Regions from separate parts of the Homo sapiens genome. Here regions 1 and 3 are each linked to region 2. The links are contacts of gene promoters, found by promoter capture Hi-C in blood cells and fetal thymus (Javierre and others, 2016). All regions are on one chromosome and are shown on one strand. The core of a region is centred on a gene start or on the middle of the fragment in contact, and the rest is flanking DNA. Distances in the headings are between cores, read along the strand shown. Region 1 overlaps TESC (tescalcin). Region 2 holds the start of MED13L (mediator complex subunit 13L). Region 3 overlaps FBXW8 (F-box and WD repeat domain containing 8).

Region 1 (2,700 bases), core at 123-2,622, 800 kb before region 2:
CCCAAGCAGCTGGGACCACAGGCATGTGCCATCACACCCAGGTAATTTTTTATTTACTTTTATTTTCGTAGAAGCAGGGTCTTGCTATGTTGCTCGGGCTGGTCTTGAACTCCTGGGCTCAGGTGATCCTCCTGCCTTAGCTTCCCAAAGTGCTGGGACTACAGCCATGCACCACCACACCAGCTAATTTTTTAAAGTTTTTGTAGAGATGGGGGTCTCACTATGTTGCCCAGGCTGGTCTCAAACTCCTGGCCTCAAGCAGTCCCCTCATTTCTACCTCCCAAAGTGCTGGCACTACAGGTGTGTACCGCTGCACCAGACCTGTTAATTGTTTTGTATTTTTTTTTTTTGAGACGTGGTCTTGCTATGTTACCCAGGGTGATCTTGAACTCCTGAGCTCAAGCAGTCCCCCCGCCTCAGCCTCCTGAGTGGCTGGGATTACAAGCGAGTGCTGCTTGAGTTACTTACAGCTGGGTTAGTGAGAGGTCCTTGCCAGTGACTTGATCGTCACACAGAGTTCATGGGGAAGCTTCAAGTTGAACAAATTTCTACCATAAACTTCTAACAGATGTAGTTTCCTAAAATAAGCATTCAGAGTCTCAAGGTTACAGCTTGTTGGAACTTTGAAACAAACCTTCTAATACTCCAGGGAAACTTCCTTCTTGGTAAACAGACTTAAATTTCCCCTAGGTTTTATGGAAACTGACATATAAATGTCCACTTTCTCTTGTTTGTCTAAACACAGGCATATTGTTAATCCAGTATATTTCATTCTTAATTTCAAGAGCTCAGATTCTGACGGTCTCATGATTCTTGTGGCCTCTGGTCTCAGTTTGATTGCATCCAAGGCCGACTTAAAGACAATTAAGATTTATACCTTTAATTCTAGACATCTTGCCCACCAAGCCCAGTGGAGGAGAGAGAACCTGAGCCCAGCGGAAGAGTCACCTGGCTTCTCATTGGCTCTGATGGGGTCACGGGCCTGAGTCTGAGCCAATCGCCATGGCCAAAGACCAGACATGCAAATGTTTTCCCCTAGAGCTATAAGGGCATGGGGCCTGGGGTCAGTTTCCTCCAAGGACAGGGATGGAGGGCGGGTGGTTTCAACCAGGGCAAGGTGAAACCTCCTTGGTCCATAGGCTGAGGAGTGTGTAGCATGACACAAGTCAGCCAGGCACTGAGATCTAGCGGGGAGGTGGCATATATGGACACTGGATGCTGGAAAACAGTGTCAAGGGCGTGCTTTGCTTGTTCCTTCAGAAGTTAATGAGCAGCCTGGGCAACATAGCAAGACCCTTTCTCTACAAAATATTTAAAAATTAGCCAGGTCTGGTGATGCACACATGTAGCTCTGGCTACTTGGGAAGCTGAGGCAGGAGGATCACTTGAACCCAGGGGTTCAAGACTGCAGTGGGCTATGAGTGCACCACTGTACTCCAGGCTGGGCAACAGAGCAAGACCCTGTCTCTTAAAAAGTTCATGAGCATCTGCTCTGCGCCAGGTGCTTGGTACCTACGCTGGTAGCTGCAGCCGCTATGGAGCTCACAGTGGAGGATGTGGGAAGGCAGAGCCCCTTTGTCCTCAAGACAGTTTTCCAGCAAGTGGAGCCCCCAGCCCTGTAACAAACTGCCTTGGACTTATTGTTATGCATCTGATGTTAGATCCATCCAACTTTGGGTGGTGAACTTTAGGTTCATATTCTACATGCATAGAGATGCAGAGGCAAAAACCCAGGCTTCGGAGTCCAACTGTATTAGAATCCTTCATGCCATTGGCTTTGTGGCTTCGGGCTGGTTACTTCCTTTCTCTGAGCTGGTCTCCTCATCTGGAAAGTGAGCATGGTCACTTGGGATTTGATTTGAGCATTAAAAATGAGCAGTCGGCCGGGCACTGTGACTCACGACTATAATCTCAGCACTTTGGGAGGCCAAGGCTGGAGGATCGCTTGAGCCCAACCTGGGCAACACAGTGAGACCCCATCTCTAGGGGGAAAAAAAAGCAGGTGCAAGCAGGGCAGTTTAGCTCTAAGCTGGGTTCACAGGCATTTGGCAAATGGGGCTATTCTTCCACCCCATCCTGAGGGTCTAATCTGAGTGTGGTGGGGGCCCAGGTGCTGTGTGAGGAGGAGGATATGAGGCTGTTGGAGGCCCCTCCCACTTTTAGGTTCTAGGCGCTGAGCCCTGATGCATTGCCTAGCACCCCATCATAAGCTTACAATGGGACGTACTAAAATGGCATTCCCTACAACAGTTTTTTTCCAACTTGACTGTGCTCGAATCACCTGGGAATCTTGCTGCCATGCAGGTTTTGCTTCTGCAGTTCTAGGGTGGGGCCTGAGACTCTGCATTTCTAACAAGTGCCTCCGTTGCCCAGCACTGTGGACAGCACACAGTAGGTCCTCCATGGTTGAGTGGGTGGAGCGTCCTCCTCCTGCAGGAGCTGAGCTGGCGCGGCCTCTCTGTGCTGATGGCGCCGGACTCCTACCTCCCAGGCCTCACCTGCCCAGGCTCAGCTTAGAAATGTGAGCCGTTGGTCCTGCCCTGCCACCCCAAACCCTGTTTGCCCCTCTCCTGCACACCCATCCCCAGGACCTCATATGTAGCACCCTTGCACAAGCCCTCAGTGTGCCTGCCTGGCAGGGTCATTCAAAGGAGCTAGTGAGCAGCCTCTGCTCAACAGCCCTCTTGATGGCTACCCAGT
Region 2 (2,700 bases), core at 91-2,590:
TTTGAGACAGGGCCTCTCTCTGTCACTCAGGCTGGAGTACGGTGATGCGACCTCGGCTCACTGGGCTCACTGCAGCCTCTGCCTCCAGGGCTCAAGTTATCCTCCCACCTCAGCCTTTCGAGTAGCTAGGGCTACAGGCACATGCCACACTACGCCTGGCTAATTTTTGTATTTTTGTATTTTATTTTTTTTGTCATGACGGGGGTTCTTGCTACATTGCTCAGGCTGGTCTTAAACCTCGGCTAGGATTACCGGCGTGAGCCACTGTGCCAGCCATCCACTCTTCCTCTTTTAGCTTAATCTACCTGAAACAGCTGATTGTTCCATGTTTGGAGGCGTATTAGTGAAGACATTGTTTTCTCCTCCCCCTTTTCGGGGATCCATTTCTTGAGGACTGGGAGAGCTTCTCTTCATAGCAGCACTCCTCCGGACTCCCAGGCCATATACACTCAGGAAATGTTGGTTATCCAATGAATGACGCCAGGAAGAAGGGTCTGCTCCCAACACGGCCTTAGCACAGTGCCTGGAAGTTATAACAGATTCTGGCACACAGCAGGAGCTCAGGAAACATTTATGTAATGAATGAATGAATGAATGAATGAGTGCACACAGTAACTAGGAGTAAGGGCTCAATAAACATTTCTGTATTAAACGCACAGTGTCTGGAACACAGTAAGCGCTCCGTCTATGGCAGCCGTGAATATCCCTGGGCGAAGCCTGTGAAACCTTGTCCAAGAGCTTGGCTTCACTGTGCGCGGGTTCGAATCTGGACTCCTCTTCCCAAGTGTGCGACCTCGGGCAAGTGATTTAATCCCTTTGTGCTTTAGTTTTCTCCTCTGCAAAAGGCGGACGGCGGCGCGAGCCTCTGAGGACACATTCCCCAGGGCACTCGGACCCGCTGCCTGGCCCACATCGCGGCCGCCGCGCCACGCCAGCCGGCCTGGGCTGCGAGGGCACAGGCCGGGGGTCCCGCGCCCTCCTCCGCGGCCACCACGGGCGCGCCCGGGACCCACGGTCCCGCCCCGCCACGATCAGTGCACCGCGAGGGGGCGGGGCGGCCACGAGGGGCAGCCCACGGCAGCCACGGGCCGGCAGTCCGCCGCCCGCCGGGGAGCCCGGCCGCCCGCACTTCTTTCTCTCCCTCTCTGCCTCCCTCCCTCCCTCTTCCCGGCCGGAGGACCCGGCCGCGCTCAGCTCAGCAGCGCCTCCCGCGAGCCGCCGCCGCCGCCGCCACTCCGGACCCCTCCCCCGCCCGCCCCTCGCTCCCCCCGCGCGGCCGGCGCCCGTCACGTGACCAAGCGCCAGCCAATGGCGGGCCGAGCCGCGGTCGGCGGCCGCCATTGCTGTCAGAGCAAGCGAGCCCGGGGAGGGAGGAGAAGCGAGGCTGACTGGGGAGGAGGGGGGGGTGGGGGAGGAAGAGGAAGGAGGGGACGTCGCTCGGCTGCCGGGGTCGCCCGCTGGCTTCGTCCGCACCCCCCCCTTCGCGAGTTCGCGCTCCGCGGCGGCGGCGGCTCCGAGGCGGCGGCGGCGGCTCCGGGGCTCGCCTCCCCTCGCGCGCCGGCGGGGGCCGAGGGGGAGTCGGTGGCTGGAGATAAACAAGGCGGCGGCAGCGGCAGCAGCGGCGGCGGCGGCGGCTGAGGAGCAGGGAAGGCGGAGGCGGTGGCCGGCCCGCAGCGCCGGCCCGGGGCGCGCGCCCCCCCCGCCAGCCCGGGCCCGCTGCCCCCGGCGCGGCGTCGCCGCGGCGCCTCCCGCCTGCCCGCCGGCCCTCGCGCCCTCCCCCGGCGGCGGCGGCGGCCCGGCCGCCCCGCGCTCCCCGGCGAGGCGCCGCCGCCCGGCCCGGCCTCGCCTCGGACGCCTCGCTCCGACATGCCCCGCTCTGGCGGCCGGGCTCGCGGAGGATCATGACTGCGGCAGCGAACTGGGTGGCGAACGGGGCGAGCCTGGAGGATTGTCACTCCAACCTCTTTTCGCTGGTGAGTAGCCGGGCTGCGGGGAGGGGGCTGTGCCGGGGAAGGGGGGGGGTCCCCGACCTCCGCCGCCGACCAACTTTCTCCTCCCGCCGCCGGGACTTCGCCCCTCCCTCGCGTCTCCCCGCCGTTCGCCTCTCGCCGATTCTCCCCCTTTTGGATCGTCTCTCTCTCGCCTTGGATCCCATCCAGTGTTTATTTGGCTCTTTAAAAATCATTTGTGAGCGCGGCGCTCGGCGTGGAATTTGCATGTGGAAGTCTCGGAGCTGCGGATTCTGGGTCGCACTTCGAACGCCCACCCTCTGTTGCAATCGCACTCCCCTTCTCCTCCCCTTTCCCCCCTTTTTTTCCCCCCGTAAATGTGGAAGGCTTTGCCTTGTGCTGCCGCGCCTCCGATCGGCAACCTCTTCCCCCGTTGTTGGATCAGCTGCCTGCCCGCCCGCCTGCCTTTTGAATTTTTTTAAATTCCATAATGACACCTGCAATTTCGCCCTAAAATAGTTGATTGAATGCGATTGTGTCAGGAAAGGACTCTTGCACCCGAAGCTCCCGCGATTGTAAACATCGACAGCCGCCTGCCTCTCGGGGCTTACTATGCTGGAGAGCCGTAAAGCCATTGCACCGAGCCGACGGAAGGTGGAGAAAGCTTTTTCTTCTTTCTCTCCTCCTGTGTCTTTTAAAAACTGTTTTTCTCTATCCTAACAACGAATCCGCACACACACACACACACACA
Region 3 (2,700 bases), core at 27-2,526, 650 kb before region 2:
GTTGCATCCCCTCCCACCCCACTAAGGCAGCCTGTATCCAATGACTAGTCCATGGCTGGGTACAAAGGCCTGGCCCCCTTGCTCAGTTCAGGACCTCTCTGAAAGGAAAACCCACTAAACCACCTACATGCAAATCTCCATTTCAGAATCTATTTTTTGAAAAGTTCAATCTTTTTTTTTTTTAACCAAAGTGATAGACATGACCCACGATAGTCCTGTGTTCAATATATTCCCAAGGTTTCTTAAGCACACCTCCAGAGACATTAGTCTAGGTAAGCTACTTCCTCTCCCCTACTTGAGGAGGATACTAGAATGCAGGTAAATGAGTGACATCACTCCACCAGACAAACCAGAGTAAATTCAAGGTTTAGTAACTAATTCATCAACTTCAGTTTGTTATTATTGGAAATATCATTTGAGAAACACCTTACAAGAGGCAGAGTTGTGAGCATATTTGGCCCTGTGGTTGAAAACACACCTCTTTTATTAGTGTGCATGATCTGACAAGGATATGAAGCCACATCCTGGACAAAAGCTGTGGTCTAGTAACCACATAAATCCTACTACTGTCGGGCAGCAGAATGTCTTAGGCACTCTGATTGGGTACTTCCCACAGTTCATAAATGTAGGTTAAAAACACTACTTGCTACTAGTGTGCAGAGAAATACCTTGTTATCTAAAACACACTATCAGACAGAGGTTGGTTAATGGATATAAAAGTGCAGCTAGACAGGAGGAATGAGTTCTGGTTCTCTGTGGCACTACAGGTTGACTATAATTCACAACAATTTATTGTATATTTTCAAATAGCTAGAAGAACAGATTTTGAATGTTTACAACACAAATAATAAACGTTTTAGGTGATGGATACATTAATTACCCTGATTTGGTCAATATACATTGTATACATATATGACACCGTGCCCCATAAATATGTACAATTATAATGTGTCCATTAAAAATAAATAAATAAAGATGCTATCAGTGTTCCACCTAGACTACTGCGAAGCACATAGCCATCCAAAAAGTTATGGGCCACGTTAACCCAACTCTACACTGACTTAAAAACATGAAAATGGACAACACTGACTTAAAAACATGAAAATGGACAACCTGTCATTTCAGAAACAAAGATATTCCAAGAAGAAGGAAAAGGAATTAAAGACATTAGAAATATTAAAATAGAGAAATCTGGTCAAACTATAAAAATATCAACATGGCTACAATATTTAGAGAAAGTAATTTTGGGCCGGGTGCAGTGGCTCACGCCTGTAATCCCAGCACTTTGGGAGGCCGAGGCAGGCGGATCACGAGGTCAGGAGATGGAGATCATCCTGGCTAACATGGTGAAACCCCGTCTCTAATAAAAAAATTAGCCGGGCCTGGTGGCAGGCGCCTGTAGTCCCAGTTACTCAGGAGGCTTAAGTAGAAGAACGGCGTGAACTTGGGAGGCGGAGCTTGCAGTGAGCCGAGATCGCGCCACTGCACTCCAGCCCGGGCGACAGAGCAAGACTCCGTCTCAAAATAAATAAATAAATAAATTAATTAATTAATTAAAAATACAAAAAATTAGCCGGGTGTGGTGGCAGGCGCCTGTAGTCCCAGCTACTCGAGAGGCTGAGCCAGGAGAATGGCGTGAACCCGGCAGGCAGAGCTTACAGTGAGCCGAGATCGCGCCACTGCACTCCAGCCTGGGTGACAGAGCGAGCGAGACTCTGTCTCAAAACAAAAAAAAAAAGAAAATAATTTTGCAGTAGTTGAATAGCTCTCAGCAATGTGAGACTGGCCAAATTTATTCTATAGGAAACCAATAAATTCAAAATATTAGTATTCCTTCAATGTTAAGGAAAAGTATCTGTTTGATAACATACAACCTTGCTTTTAATTCTTTGACAATGTCTCAGATATCGATTCTCTACCACTATTGGGGACTTTCGTCCTGTATTACACATTAAAATCACCTGTGGAATTTAAAAAAAAAAATGCCAAGGGCCCTACCAAGACCTACTGCCCTGAATTTCCAGGGTTAGGGCTCAAGCACCTCCTTTTCTTTTGAGACAGAGTCTCGCTCTGTCGCCCAGTCTGGAGTGCAGTGGCACGATCCTGGCTCAATGAAACCTCTGCCTCCCAGGTTCAAGCGATTCTCATGCCTCAGCCTCCCAAGTAGCTGAGATTACAGGCACACATCACCACATCTAGCTAATTTTTGTATTTTTTAGTAGAGACAGGGTTTTGTCATGTTGGCCAGGCTAGTCTCGAACTCTCGGCCTCCACCTGCCTTGGCCTCTCAGAGTGCTGGGATTACAGGCATGAGCCACTGCACCCGGCCTCAAGCACCTCTTTCTCAGGCGATCCTCATGCACACTAAAAGTTGAGAACACAACCATACATCATAGGCAGATATAAAAATCTATCCATCCCCTTTTTCCTAGTCAAGGGAAAAAAAACACACACACACACACTCAAAGGGGTCATATTACTTATTTAATTTAAAGTCAGTGAATACTAGATTTTCCCAAAGTCTACTGGACTTACTCCAAAAACACTGAGAGAAATTGCAAAGAGATCCATCCCCAGGGAGGCTGATTTGTATTCCTATGTGCTAATGTAAGACTAATTCTGTAAATGGATTGGTTTTGTGCCTTACTGTTAGAAATTTAATCTGTCTTCTCTTGTTTAATAGAAGAACAGATAATTACT

What was found. Contacts are between HindIII fragments. The CHiCAGO score rates a contact against its expected background, and 5 or more counts as called.
Region 1: a fragment that was not itself captured here is called in contact with the fragment with the promoter of MED13L in region 2 in 1 of 17 cell types (neutrophils); the score reaches 5.1 in neutrophils.
Region 3: a fragment that was not itself captured here is called in contact with the fragment with the promoter of MED13L in region 2 in 1 of 17 cell types (naive CD8 T cells); the score reaches 6.6 in naive CD8 T cells.

Annotation. Positions count from the first base shown.
Region 1 is chr12:117,071,564-117,074,263 of GRCh38, reverse strand. All of the region lies in intron 2 of TESC (tescalcin), which reads left to right. Among named protein-coding and RNA genes, the nearest start is that of TESC, 27 kb to the left of the region's middle. The HindIII fragment of the contact is 1,681 bases long and covers 532-2,212 here.
Region 2 is chr12:116,276,333-116,279,032 of GRCh38, reverse strand. MED13L (mediator complex subunit 13L) reads left to right here and starts at 1,340. Exons shown (of 31, transcript NM_015335.5): 1 at 1,340-1,973. The coding sequence starts at 1,902. RefSeq lists silencers at 932-991, 1,042-1,511. The HindIII fragment of the contact is 4,130 bases long and covers 1-2,615 here.
Region 3 is chr12:116,922,560-116,925,259 of GRCh38, reverse strand. The region is part of intron 1 of FBXW8 (F-box and WD repeat domain containing 8); the gene reads right to left. Among named protein-coding and RNA genes, the nearest start is that of FBXW8, 13 kb to the right of the region's middle. The HindIII fragment of the contact is 6,125 bases long and covers 1-2,700 here.